Regions from separate parts of the Homo sapiens genome. Here region 1 is linked to region 2. The links are contacts of gene promoters, found by promoter capture Hi-C in blood cells and fetal thymus (Javierre and others, 2016). All regions are on one chromosome and are shown on one strand. Each heading gives the region's core, a stretch centred on a gene start or on the middle of the fragment in contact. The rest is flanking DNA. Distances are from core to core; before and after follow the strand shown. Region 1 overlaps SLC30A5 (solute carrier family 30 member 5). Region 2 holds the start of KGD4 (alpha-ketoglutarate dehydrogenase subunit 4).

What was found. Contacts are between HindIII fragments. The CHiCAGO score rates a contact against its expected background, and 5 or more counts as called.
Region 1: a fragment that was not itself captured here is called in contact with the fragment with the promoter of KGD4 in region 2 in 1 of 17 cell types (total B cells); the score reaches 5.4 in total B cells.

Annotation. Positions count from the first base shown.
Region 1 is chr5:69,127,841-69,133,530 of GRCh38, reverse strand. It overlaps SLC30A5 (solute carrier family 30 member 5), which reads right to left. Exons shown (of 16, transcript NM_022902.5): 15 at 5,399-5,527; 16 at 2,462-4,084. The coding sequence ends at 3,914. Among named protein-coding and RNA genes, the nearest start is that of SNORA50D, 30 kb to the left of the region's middle. The HindIII fragment of the contact is 1,765 bases long and covers 3,102-4,866 here.
Region 2 is chr5:69,215,668-69,221,448 of GRCh38, reverse strand. It overlaps KGD4 (alpha-ketoglutarate dehydrogenase subunit 4), which reads right to left and starts at 3,689. Exons shown (of 4, transcript NM_033281.6): 1 at 3,578-3,689. The coding sequence starts at 3,619. RefSeq lists enhancers at 840-1,464, 3,113-3,407. The HindIII fragment of the contact is 5,941 bases long and covers 1-4,635 here.

The DNA.
Region 1 (5,690 bases), core at 2,735-5,234, 88 kb after region 2:
CTCTGTCCTTGAACGCTGCTTTAGTTGAGTCTCAACCCTGAATCCAGAGTGCCTAGTTGAGAAAATTGGCTTTCCCACTTATAACGTGTATGATTTGGGGCAGGTTAATTAACCTTTTCCTGCCTCAGTTTCTGCATCAGTAAAATGGAAATAATAATTACACATATTTATTGTTTAGAACAGTGTCCATCTGGAACATGGCAAAAGTTCAGTAAGTTATTGCTTTTCTTCACAGCACTTACTACATTTTATTACATACTGGTCTTGTCTTCTACATTAGAAGTAAGCTCCATTAGGGCAGGACTTTGTATTACTGAGGACTTTATCCCTAGCTCCTAGTGCAGTGTATTTAGTATAAAGGCCTTCAGTATTTGTTATGAGTTAATTTACTGAATGTTTAAAACGCCATAAATTGCTATAACAGAAGAAAAGAATTATAATTAAAAATAAAACACAGGCCGGGCACGGTGGCTGATGCCTGTAATCCCACACTTTGGGAGGCCGAGGTGGGCGGATGGATCACAAGGTCGAGGTCGAGACCATCCTGGCCAACATGGTGAAACTCTGTCTCTACTAAAAAAAAAATACAAAAATTAGCTGGGCGTAGTGGCGTGCACCTGTAGTCCCAGCTACTCAGGAGGCTGAGGCAGGAGAATCGTTTGAACCCAGGAGGTGGAGGTTACAGTGAGCCAGATTGCACCACTGCACTCAAGCCTGGCGACAGAGCGAGACTCTAAAAACTAATAAATAAAAACATAAATAAAACACAAAAAGCCATAAATGATTGTATTATTTTCTTTCTTTTTTTTTTTTTTTTGAGACGGAGTCTCACTCTGTCACCCAGGCTGGAGTGCAGTGGCACGATCTCGGCTCACTGCAACCTCCGCCTCCCGGGTTCACACCATTCTCCTGCCTCAGCCTCCCGAGGAGCTGGGACTACAGGCGCCCGCCACCACGCCCCGCTAATTTTTTGTATTTTTAGTAGAGATGGGGTTTCACCGTGTTAGCCAGGATGGCTATAATCCTCATACTTTGGGAAGAAGAGGTGGGAGGATCACTTGAGCCCAGGAGTTCCGAGACTTGCATGGGCAACATGGTGAGACCCTGTCTCTACAAACAATAAATTAGCTGGGCATGGTAATGTGCACCTGCAGTCCTACCTACTGGAGAGGCTGAGGTGGGAGGATTGCTTGAGCTCAGGAGTTCAAGGCTGCAGTGAGCAATGATCATGTCATTGCACTCCAGCCTGGGCAACAGAGTGAGACCTTGTCTCTGAAAAAAAAATCCAAACTCCCCTCCCTCAAAACAGGCTTCTATTTTGGGCATTATTTTTAACTTATTTATATGTTAAACATCTAATTAATCTCTTGAGATGCTAATTTATAGAAAAAAAGAGACAAGTTAATGACGGCTACCTTTGAAGTCAGGCTTAAAAAGTAACAATTCTTCGTATTTAGCCTTTTTCTTTTTTGTTTTTGAGATGGAGTCTTGCTCTGTCACCCAGGCTAGAGTGCAGTGGTGCTATCTCGGCTGCCTGCCAGCTCCGCCTCCCAGGTTAACGCCATTCTCCTGCCTTAGCCTGCCGAGTAGCTGGGACTACAGGCGCCTGCCACCACATCTGGCTAATTTTTTGCATTTTTAGTAGAGACAGGGTTTCACCATGTTAGCCAGGATGGTCTCGATCTCCTGACCTCGTGATCCGCCCACCTCGGCCTCCCAAAGTGCTGGGATTACAGGCGTGAGCCACCGCACCCGGCCTATTTAGCCTTTTTCAACTTCCACTGCATTTTCACATACATTATACCTTTTGTTCCCATATCCTGTGCTGTAAATTTGAGCAGGTTTTATATAGTTTATATATGAGGAAAAAAAAAAGATACCTCAGAAAGGCTGATTTGCCTAAAGTTGCATGAATTTTTTTTTTTTTTTTGAGATAAAATCTTTCTGTGTCACCCAGGCTGGAGAGCAGTGGTGCCATCATGGCTCACTGCAGCCTTGGCCTCCTAGGTTCAAGCAATCCTCCTGCCTCAGCCTCCCAAGAGGTATGTGCCACCATGCCCCAGCTAATTTTTAAAAATTTTTGTAGAGATGGAATCTTGCTATGTTGCTCAGGCTGTTCTCAAACTCCTGGGCTCAAGCTATCCTTTTGCTTTAGCCTCCCAAAGTGCCAGGATTTCAGGCAAGAGACACTGCACCTGGCCTAGTTGCATGATTTGCATGAGCTGAAATACAGTACCCTGGTGCTTTCAATATTAGAGTTTCCATACTTTATAATTGTACCTCCCCAACCTTCAGCCCCTGCTCTCTCTCACTCTAATATCTCACAATCACATTAATTTTTTTGCTGTTTATATGTCTTCTAAGGGAAATGACAATTTTAACTTTGGTGTAATATTTATTGCACCTATCTACTTAATTTTTTAATGTATAAAAATTGCATTAAAACATCAATATGCAATTATTTTCCCACCACTCAAAAATTTTAATATGTATTGAAGATTTTGGCCAAAAAATATGCAAAAGACAAGGAATATAAAAATAACTTACAACAAATTTCTAAAACCCCTCATATATTAAAATTGGTAAGACAAAAATATGATTTATAATACATGTTTGCCATTGTGGTATATATAAGAAAATAGTACTCATACTAAATTCAATCTACTTATCAAAATTCTTAATATAAGAATGAAAATATTCAGATGTTATAAATAGAAAGACAGGTATTAAAAAGTTTCTTTTGGACAACATTCTTTGGTGCTGATAAAACTGCATGTTATTGTCTATGGTAAAGTCTTTTCAGACTTTACTACATATCTAGTTACAACTGGAAATGAAAAAAATATAAATTAGATATGACTATAGAAAGTAGTTATAGGGTATTTTGATTTCATGGTGCTCAAATGTTTATGAACAAGTTTTACTTATTAAACTTTGAAATAACTACCTATTCTTTGATATTTCTTATATATCTATATGTTCCAGAAATTAGAAAAAAGTTACCTACATAGGCAGAGAATTCAACTGTGAGTTGACAATTATTTACGATTCTCTTAACTGGCTGTTTCACAACGTTATGGAGCTAAGAAAGGATGAAAGCTTACCACTGCTTGGATACCAGCTTGATAAGCAGCTTGGAATGTCAAATATATAACAAGAAAGGAAATATTCTACTTTAAAGGAACATGGTAAGTAAATGAATAACATGGACACAACTTAGTATAAGTTCTTTACCCTAATAAATTAATTATTCATTTGCAAATATTACCAAAAGTAAAAAAAATTTATTTTATAGAGTGGTTGATTTTTGTAATACATCAAAAACTGTGATGTTATACACTTCCCTATTCTCATTGCTTATCTCATATCAGTGGTTGAAGTTTCTCCCAAATAATTTAGTTTACATTTAAAGTGGCAATACAGATTTTACTTAATGGACTTAAGTTATAATTAGAAACCAGTTTTATATACAGAAAATCCATAAATATAGAACTTTTATTCCTATTTTATCTTTAGGCTATGCAAAAAATGGACTAAAAATTTTTCATTTGGGTCTTTGTAATAAACATGTAAATACATATTTACAATGGAGATGCTTCCTGATAGAAAGTAAACAGAAGTAATTTTGGTCTTCACTAGAATCCATCATATCTATTTTTGAAGATGATGTAATACATCATGTTTACTCAAAATTTGATTCCTTTTATACACATAATTTAAATAATTACTCCACTTTTACCATTAATGTTTCATTCTGTATTTAAATTTCCTTCAAGAAAGATTCCTTGATCCAGTAGTAGGGAACTCTGTTTCTGTACAGTTAATGTGTAATTTTTATCCTTCTGGCAATATTACAAATACTGAGTCATTTAATCTTCATTGTTTATTCTCCAGGGGTAATTCTTGAGTTATCTCACATGATGTAAGTACCATCTTTGCAGTATTTCATGGATTCCATTTGTTTTGTCATAGCCAGAACATCATGAAATCCAGTACTTAGGCCAGACATATGTTGAAAGTATGCCTCCTTTTCCACTTGAATTGTTAAATTGTTTACTCCAGCATCTTTAAGTATTCCTGTAACCTGTTATAAAAATCCAGATATTTTGAAGCATTTAGAGTAATGCATTTAGTACACACGTCTTAATATGCTGTACATAGTTGATACGGGTTGAGTATCTTTAATCTGAAAATACGAAATCTGAGACGCTCTAAAATCTGAAACTTTTTGAGTGCCAAGATGGTGTTAAAAGGAAATGCTCATTGGAGCATTTTGGATTTGGATTTTCAGATTAGGGATGCTCAACTGGTAAGCGTAATGCGAGTATTAAAAAAAATAAAATCGCAAATCGAAAACACTTCTGGTTCCAAGCATTTTAGATAAGGAATATTAAACCTGTGTCACATTTTTAAAATAGTTACAGGCCAGGCACAGTGGCCCAGGGAGGCTGAGGCAGGAGGATCGCTTGAGCCCAGGAGTTTGAGACCAGCCTGGGCAACATAGTGAGATCTTGTCTCTAAAATGAATGAGTAAACAAACAAACAAACAGTTACAGTAGTCCAAGATAAATCTTCGAAGTAATATTCATCATTTAGTTAGTTAAAATATTAGACTCTTTTAGGTCAGTAAATTACTGATTTGACATTCACAGTAGAAAAGGAAAACAGCCATTGTTTCCAATTTGGCACATCTAGAACAGGGCTTTAGTAACTATTCTGACCTCTATCTCCAAACATAGCATATACCCTGCCAAGTTGATTATTACTAATTTAGGAATATATTTATAATAACTTATTTTTTGATAATCTACTGGAAACCAAGATTAATCAAACTCATAAATGAATTTTTTTATATTAATTAAAGCTTATCCTCTAAACACAAAACTTCATTTATTTTAGCAATTTTTAGATATAAAACAAATCTAGATGTAAAAAGTAAGCTATATTACCGTTACAGATTTGGAAGATTAGGCCGGGCATGATGGCTTGCCTATAAACCCAGCACTTTGGGAGGTCGAGGCAGGCGGATCACCTGAGGTCAGGAGTTTGAGACTAGACTGGCCAACATGGCGAAACCCCATCTCTACTAAAAATACAAACAAACAAACAAAAATAGGCGGGCATGGTGACGGGTGCCTATAATCCCAGCGACTTGGGAGGCTGAGGCAGGGAGACTGCTTGAACCCAGGAGGCGGAGGTTGCAGTGGGCCGAGATCACGCCACTGCACTCCAGCCTGGGCAACAGAGTGAGACCCTGTCTCAAAAAAAAAAAAAAAAAAAGAGTTGGAAGATTGATATTTCTGAATAGTAAATGACTACTGAGCCATATAACTTATGAGGTGTACAATTTTGGGTATGAATGACCTCAATTAAAATTACTTTAAAAACAAAAGATTACCTGCTGTACTATTCTTTGTTCTAGCACATCAGATGTCACCTGTATATGAATTGTTCCTGCCACAATACTAGCAGAATGACGCCAAAAATGAGGGTCTCGGTATGATATTAATCCTTCAATTTTCTGTATCTGTCAAATAAAAGAGGTGATATAAATGGTCATACAGGCTACTTTACACAACACAATGGAGATGCTTTCTGACAGAAAGTAAACACACAGATTCCTTGGTCCAGGATCACTATTAAGCTCTTTAAAATACAAAACAAAACAAACAAAAAACCAGCCATAATGA
Region 2 (5,781 bases), core at 2,440-4,939:
CTATGCCTCTTATAAATAGCATAGCACTGGATTTTCATTTGTTAGCCAGTCTGAAAATGTTTTACTTTATTATTTATTTTTTGAGACCAGGTCTTGCTCTGTTACACAGGCTGGGGTGCAGTGGAGTGATCGTGGTTCACTGCAGCGTCAAACTCCTGGGCTCAAGTGATCTTTCCACCTCAGCCTCCTAAGTAGCTAGGACTACAGGTACACACCCACACACTACCCCTCCTGCCTGGCTAATTTTTTTTTTTTTTTTTAGTATTTATTGATCATTCTTGGGTGTTTCTCGGAGAGGGGGATGTGGCAGGGTCATAGGATAATAGTGGAGAGAAGGTCAGCAGATAAACACGTGAACAAAAAGGTCTCTGGTTTTCCTAGGCAGAGGTCCCTGCGGCCTTCCGCAGTGTTTACGTCCCTGGGTACTTGAGATTAGGGAGTGGTGATGACTCTTAACGAGCATGCTGCCTTCAAGCATCTGTTTAACAAAGCACATCTTGCACCGCCCTTAATCCATTTAACCCTGAGTGGACACAGCACGTTTCAGAGAGCACGGGGTTGGGGGTAAGGTTATAGATTAACAGCATCCCAAGGCAGAAGAATTTTTCTTAGTACAGAACAAAATGGAGTCTCCTGTGTCTACTTCTTTCTACACAGACACAGTAACAATCTGATCTCTCTTTCTTTTCCCCACATTTCCCCCTTTTCTTTTCGACAAAACCGCCATCGTCATCATGGCCCGTTCTCGATGGTTGCTGTCTCTTCAGAGCTGTTGGGTACACCTGCAGAAAGGCTGTCACTTCACACTTGGAAGATTGCACTGCGGCCAGGCAGAGGCGCTCCTCACTTCCCAGACGGGGTGGCGGCCGGGCAGAGGCGCTCCTCACATCCCAGACGGGGCGGCCGGGCAGAGGCGCTCCTCACTTCCCAGACGGGGCGGCTGCCTGGCTAATTTTTATAGAGATGGGGTCTTGCTATGTTGCCTAGGCTAATCTTGAACTCCTGGCTCAAGCAATCTTCCCACCTTGGCTTTCCAAAGTGTTGGGAGTACAGGTGTGAGCCACCGTGCCCAGCTGGCTTTGTCTTTACTTAATGTTCTGAGACCACGCTTTGTGACTTCCTATCAGTTTGTACCAATCAGTCTTTTGGCACTCTTCTCTTCCTTCAAGATATGGATCAACAACCAAATTCTAAGCTCTATGTTTTTTTGTTTTTTTTTTTTGAGTCAGGGTCTAGCTCTACTGTCCAGGCTGGAATGCAGTGGCATGATTATGGCTCACTGTAGCCTTGATCACCCAGGCTCAATCTTCCCACCTCAGCCTCCTGAGTAGCTGGGACCACAGGTGCACATCACCATGCTCAGCTAATTTTTTAAAATTTTTATAGAGATGGGGTCTTGCTATTTTGCCCAGGCTGGTCTTGAACTCCTGGGCTCAAGCCATCCTCCTGCCTCAAACTACCAAAGTGTTGGGATTACAGGCATACATCAGTGAGCCTGGCCTAAACTCTAACTGGCACTGTAGTCCTAGCTTTATAGGCCTGTCACAGAGATACTCAACAAATTTTGCTAATGTTATATGTAATTATTACATAATATTAGCACATACTTTATTATTTATTTTTCGAGACCAGGTCTTGCTCTGTTACACAGGCTGGGGTGCAGTGGGGTGATTGTGGTTCACTGCAGCGTCAAACTCCTAGGCTCAAGTGATATTATATTAGCATATTGGTTGTATTCTCTCTTTTTTTCTTTTTTTTTAAGAGCGCAATCACGAACCTGATTTGAATTCTAAATAGGTGAGTACAGGTCTTTGTTCCTATGTTAGAAGGGCACAGACCATTCCTTACTGTATATCTCACAGTTTCTTCATTTGTTTGCACACATCAGCTGTTAGTATTGCTTTGGACTGTACTATTTTAACAAACTACCACAATTTGTTTATGCAAAAGACAGACATAGAGATTGTTTGTGGTTTGGGGGCTATCAGAAATAGAGCCAGGGACCCCATGGCAGTATATATAGTACCTGCCTGCTGAGATGCCACACTCCTGCTGCCAGGCTGGAACCCCTCAGCTCTGGACCCCAGTTCTTTGCTAGTAACTCTTTTTTTTCTGTGAACATTTACGTACAGAGACAGTATGTGCATTCACTTCTCTTGGGCAATAAACCTATGAGTAGAATTGCTGGGTCATACGGTAGATACATGCTTAACTATTAGAGACTGACAGCTTTCCAAAGTGGCTATAACATTTTATATTCCCACCAGCAATATTGAGGGTTTCAGACGCTTCACATTCTCATCACCACTGACGTCTAAATTTTAGTCATTTTGGTGGATGTGTAGGACCTCATGGTTTTAATTTTTATTTTCCTGGCAAGTAATGATATTGAGCACCTTTTAAAATGTTCATTGCTCATTTGGGTATCTTTTGTGCAACACGCCAAGTCTTTTACCCATTTTTAAATTGTTATATATTATTGATACATATGGTTATATATTATGGATAACAGACCTTTGTCAGTCTCTCAGTCCTTACAGAATCTTTAACTAGTTGATGCTCAGTAACTACCTACTGAATAAGTAAGGATCATTCATTGCAATGGGACCAAAGACTGGGATCTAGGATTATCATTCAGACAACAATTTCAGGAATTTAGAAAAAGGTCTTTTAAGAGATGTACTTATATAAAGCGGAATGTACTTCTCATATCAAAGATAAAAGTCAATTATAAAATAATATAGTTTCAGGGTTCAAAGACTATGTAAACCAACCACAAAAGTGGAGGTTGTGTTCCACTTATATAATAATTTTACCTAAGTTAGAACCACAGCTGAAGAAACAAATAAAAAGGCTATCAGGAGTTAGTAGCTGATAGGTGGATTAACAAAGTTACTTTAGCTGTCTATCTAAACCAGGGGAAAATAGGCTTGTGAAACCAACGCTTATACACACACACACACACACACACACACACATTAATATACACACACACATACTAATTAAACTTAAGTTTACTTTTCTATTTCCCTCATCTGGCCTGTAGCCAGACGCTTGGAGAGGTTGGGGAGAACCCGCTCCGGCGAGGACGCAGTACGCGGGGCCAGTTGCCCGACCATTCCCGAGACCTTGAAGGGACAGTGGGTCAGATCCAGGGTTCGCTTCCTTCCACGCCCCGCTACCGCCTTCCTTCCGATTGGCTGATCGGGGGCACCACAGCCAATCCTAGACGGCGATTGGCCAGGCTACCGCCAGGGTCGCCTCACCCGCACACGCCTAAGACTAACAAGGTCCTGGCGGAGGAGCGGGGGATCCCGGCAGTAGGTACAGGACCTACCTGCCAAGATGCTGCACGGTTGCCGCAAGGCTCGAACCCTCGGCGCCGGACCCACCTCACTGCCCGGTCCAACAGGCTCAAAGTCCCATCCTCACACACACCCGCGGGCGCCGTCACTGGCCCTCCGCAGAGGCGCGGTCACCGCTCTGCCTCTGCCACCGCCTTTACTCCCCGACGCCGTCGCCATAGTCAGCACCGTCCCTACCGCCCAAGATGCGGAAACGCGACAAATTGCTTTACCTGAACGACCCTACTAGCAGACGCCATCTTGCTGCCCATCATGACCCCCGAGAAGGGGCAGTTTCCGGGGCGCGAGCGAGCCGCGGCGATCACTGGAGTCCCGGGCAGCTGTGGGCGGTGCTTCCCGGGACGTCACGGAGGCGGAGACCGGACTGGGCTCTCCTCCGCCGTGGGGCTGGCTCCGCCCCCTGTGCCTGACCCCGCCCACCCCTTCTCCCTACTAGGATCCACCCACGTGTGTTCTATTGTTTCGTTTTGGGGACAAAATTTTGTTAAGGTGGGTCTCTGCTCATTAGCCTATAAATTGTCTAGGACCATTTCCTTTCCAGAAAGCCAGTCTATAATTTCGATATAGTTCAAAATTTTATCTGGAACCAAATAAATAATACAACCTTCTTATCTGACAGCTCTTGCAAAGATTAAAAAAATTAAAGAAAAACAAAAAAAAAACCTTGCGGTTTCCTAAAATGAATAATTTCGTTAAAATGGGAGTTAGTGGCAAGCTCACAAGAGTTTACTCTGGCTTAAAAAGGGCCATGTCACACTCTCTTGCTGATTGGCATTGCTTGATTGTAATTTGTTTCTGTTTTCTTTACCGTTTATTACTCCTGATATCGAACTGCTGGGCCTTTGCTTCAAGTTGAGATAACTCAAAAATTCAGAAATATTTGAAATGTAAGCCACTCATATCTTTCCCCCAAAATTACATTACGGGCGGGGCGCTATGGCTCACGCCTGTAATGCCAGCACTTTGGGAGGCTGAGGCGGGCGGATCACTTGAGGTCAGGAGTTCGACACCAGACTGGCCAACATTGTAAAACCCTGTCTCTACTAAAAATACAAAAATTAGCCGGGCGTGGTGGCGGGCGCCTGTAGTCCCAGCTACTCAGGAGGTGAGGCAGGAGAATTGCTTGAACCCAGAAGGCAGAGGTTGCAGTAAGCCGAGAGTGTGCCACTGCACTCCGGCCTGAGCGACAGAGGGAGACTCCGTCTCAAAAAAAAAAAAAGTTACATTACGTTCTGTGATAATGCTTAGGTTATATATAGTATTGTAAGCTTGACCAATGTGTTTGATGATATACATCAGTGATTTCTAAGTCTTGGGATCTTTTTAGAAATATAAATTACTGAACCCAGGTATGGTCTATTGGGATTCAGTGACTACAGAGAGGCCATTAACCCGTTTTGTTTTGTTTTGTTTTTGTGGTTTTTTTTTTTTTTTTTGAGACGGAGTCTCGCTCTGTTGCCCAGCCTGGAGTGCTGTGGCGTGATCTCAGGTCACTGCAACCTTTGCCTCCTGGATTCAAGCAATTCTCCAGCCTCAGCCTCCCCAGTAGCTGGGATTACAGACGCCCGCCACCACGCCTGGCTAATTTTTGTATTTTTGGTAGAGACAGAGTTTCACCATATTGGCCAGACTAATCTCCAACTCCTGGCCTCAAGTGATCCACCCACCTCAGCCTCCCTAAGTGCTGGTATTACAGGCGTGAGCCACTGCGCCTGGCCCCATTTTAATTATTTTCAAATGTGCAGTTCAGTCACATTAAGTACATTCACATTGTTGGGCAATTGTTACCATCTTCAGAAACTGTACCCATTAAACAAAAACTTATTCCTCCTTCCCTCAGCCTCTGACAACTATCATTTTACTTTCTGTCTATGAATTTGACTACTGTGGGTACTTAATGTACGTGGAGCCATAACAGTATTTGTCCTTTTGTAATTAGCTTGTTTCACTTAGCATGTCTTCAGAGTTCATTCATGTTGTAGAATGTGTCAGAATTTCTTTTTTAAGGCTGAAAAAATCCCATTATATGTGTATACCACATTTTGCTTATCCATTCATCTGTGGTAATTCTTTTTTTTTTTGAGACAGAGTCTTGCTCTGTCACCCAGGCTGGAGTGCAGTGGTGCCAACTCGGCTCACTGCAAGCTCCGCCTCCCTGGTTCACACCATTCTCCCACCTCAGCCTCCCAGGTAGCTGGGACTACAGGCACCCGCCACCACACCAGGCTAATTTTTTTTGTATTTTTAGTAGAGACAGGGTTTCACTGTGTTAGCCAGGATAGTCTCCATCTCCTGACCTCGTGATCTGCCCGCCTCAGCCTCCCAAAGTGCTGGGATTACAGGTGTGAGCCACCGTGCCCAGCCGATAATTTTTTTTTTTTTTTGAGACAGAGTCTCGCTGTGACACCCAGGCTGG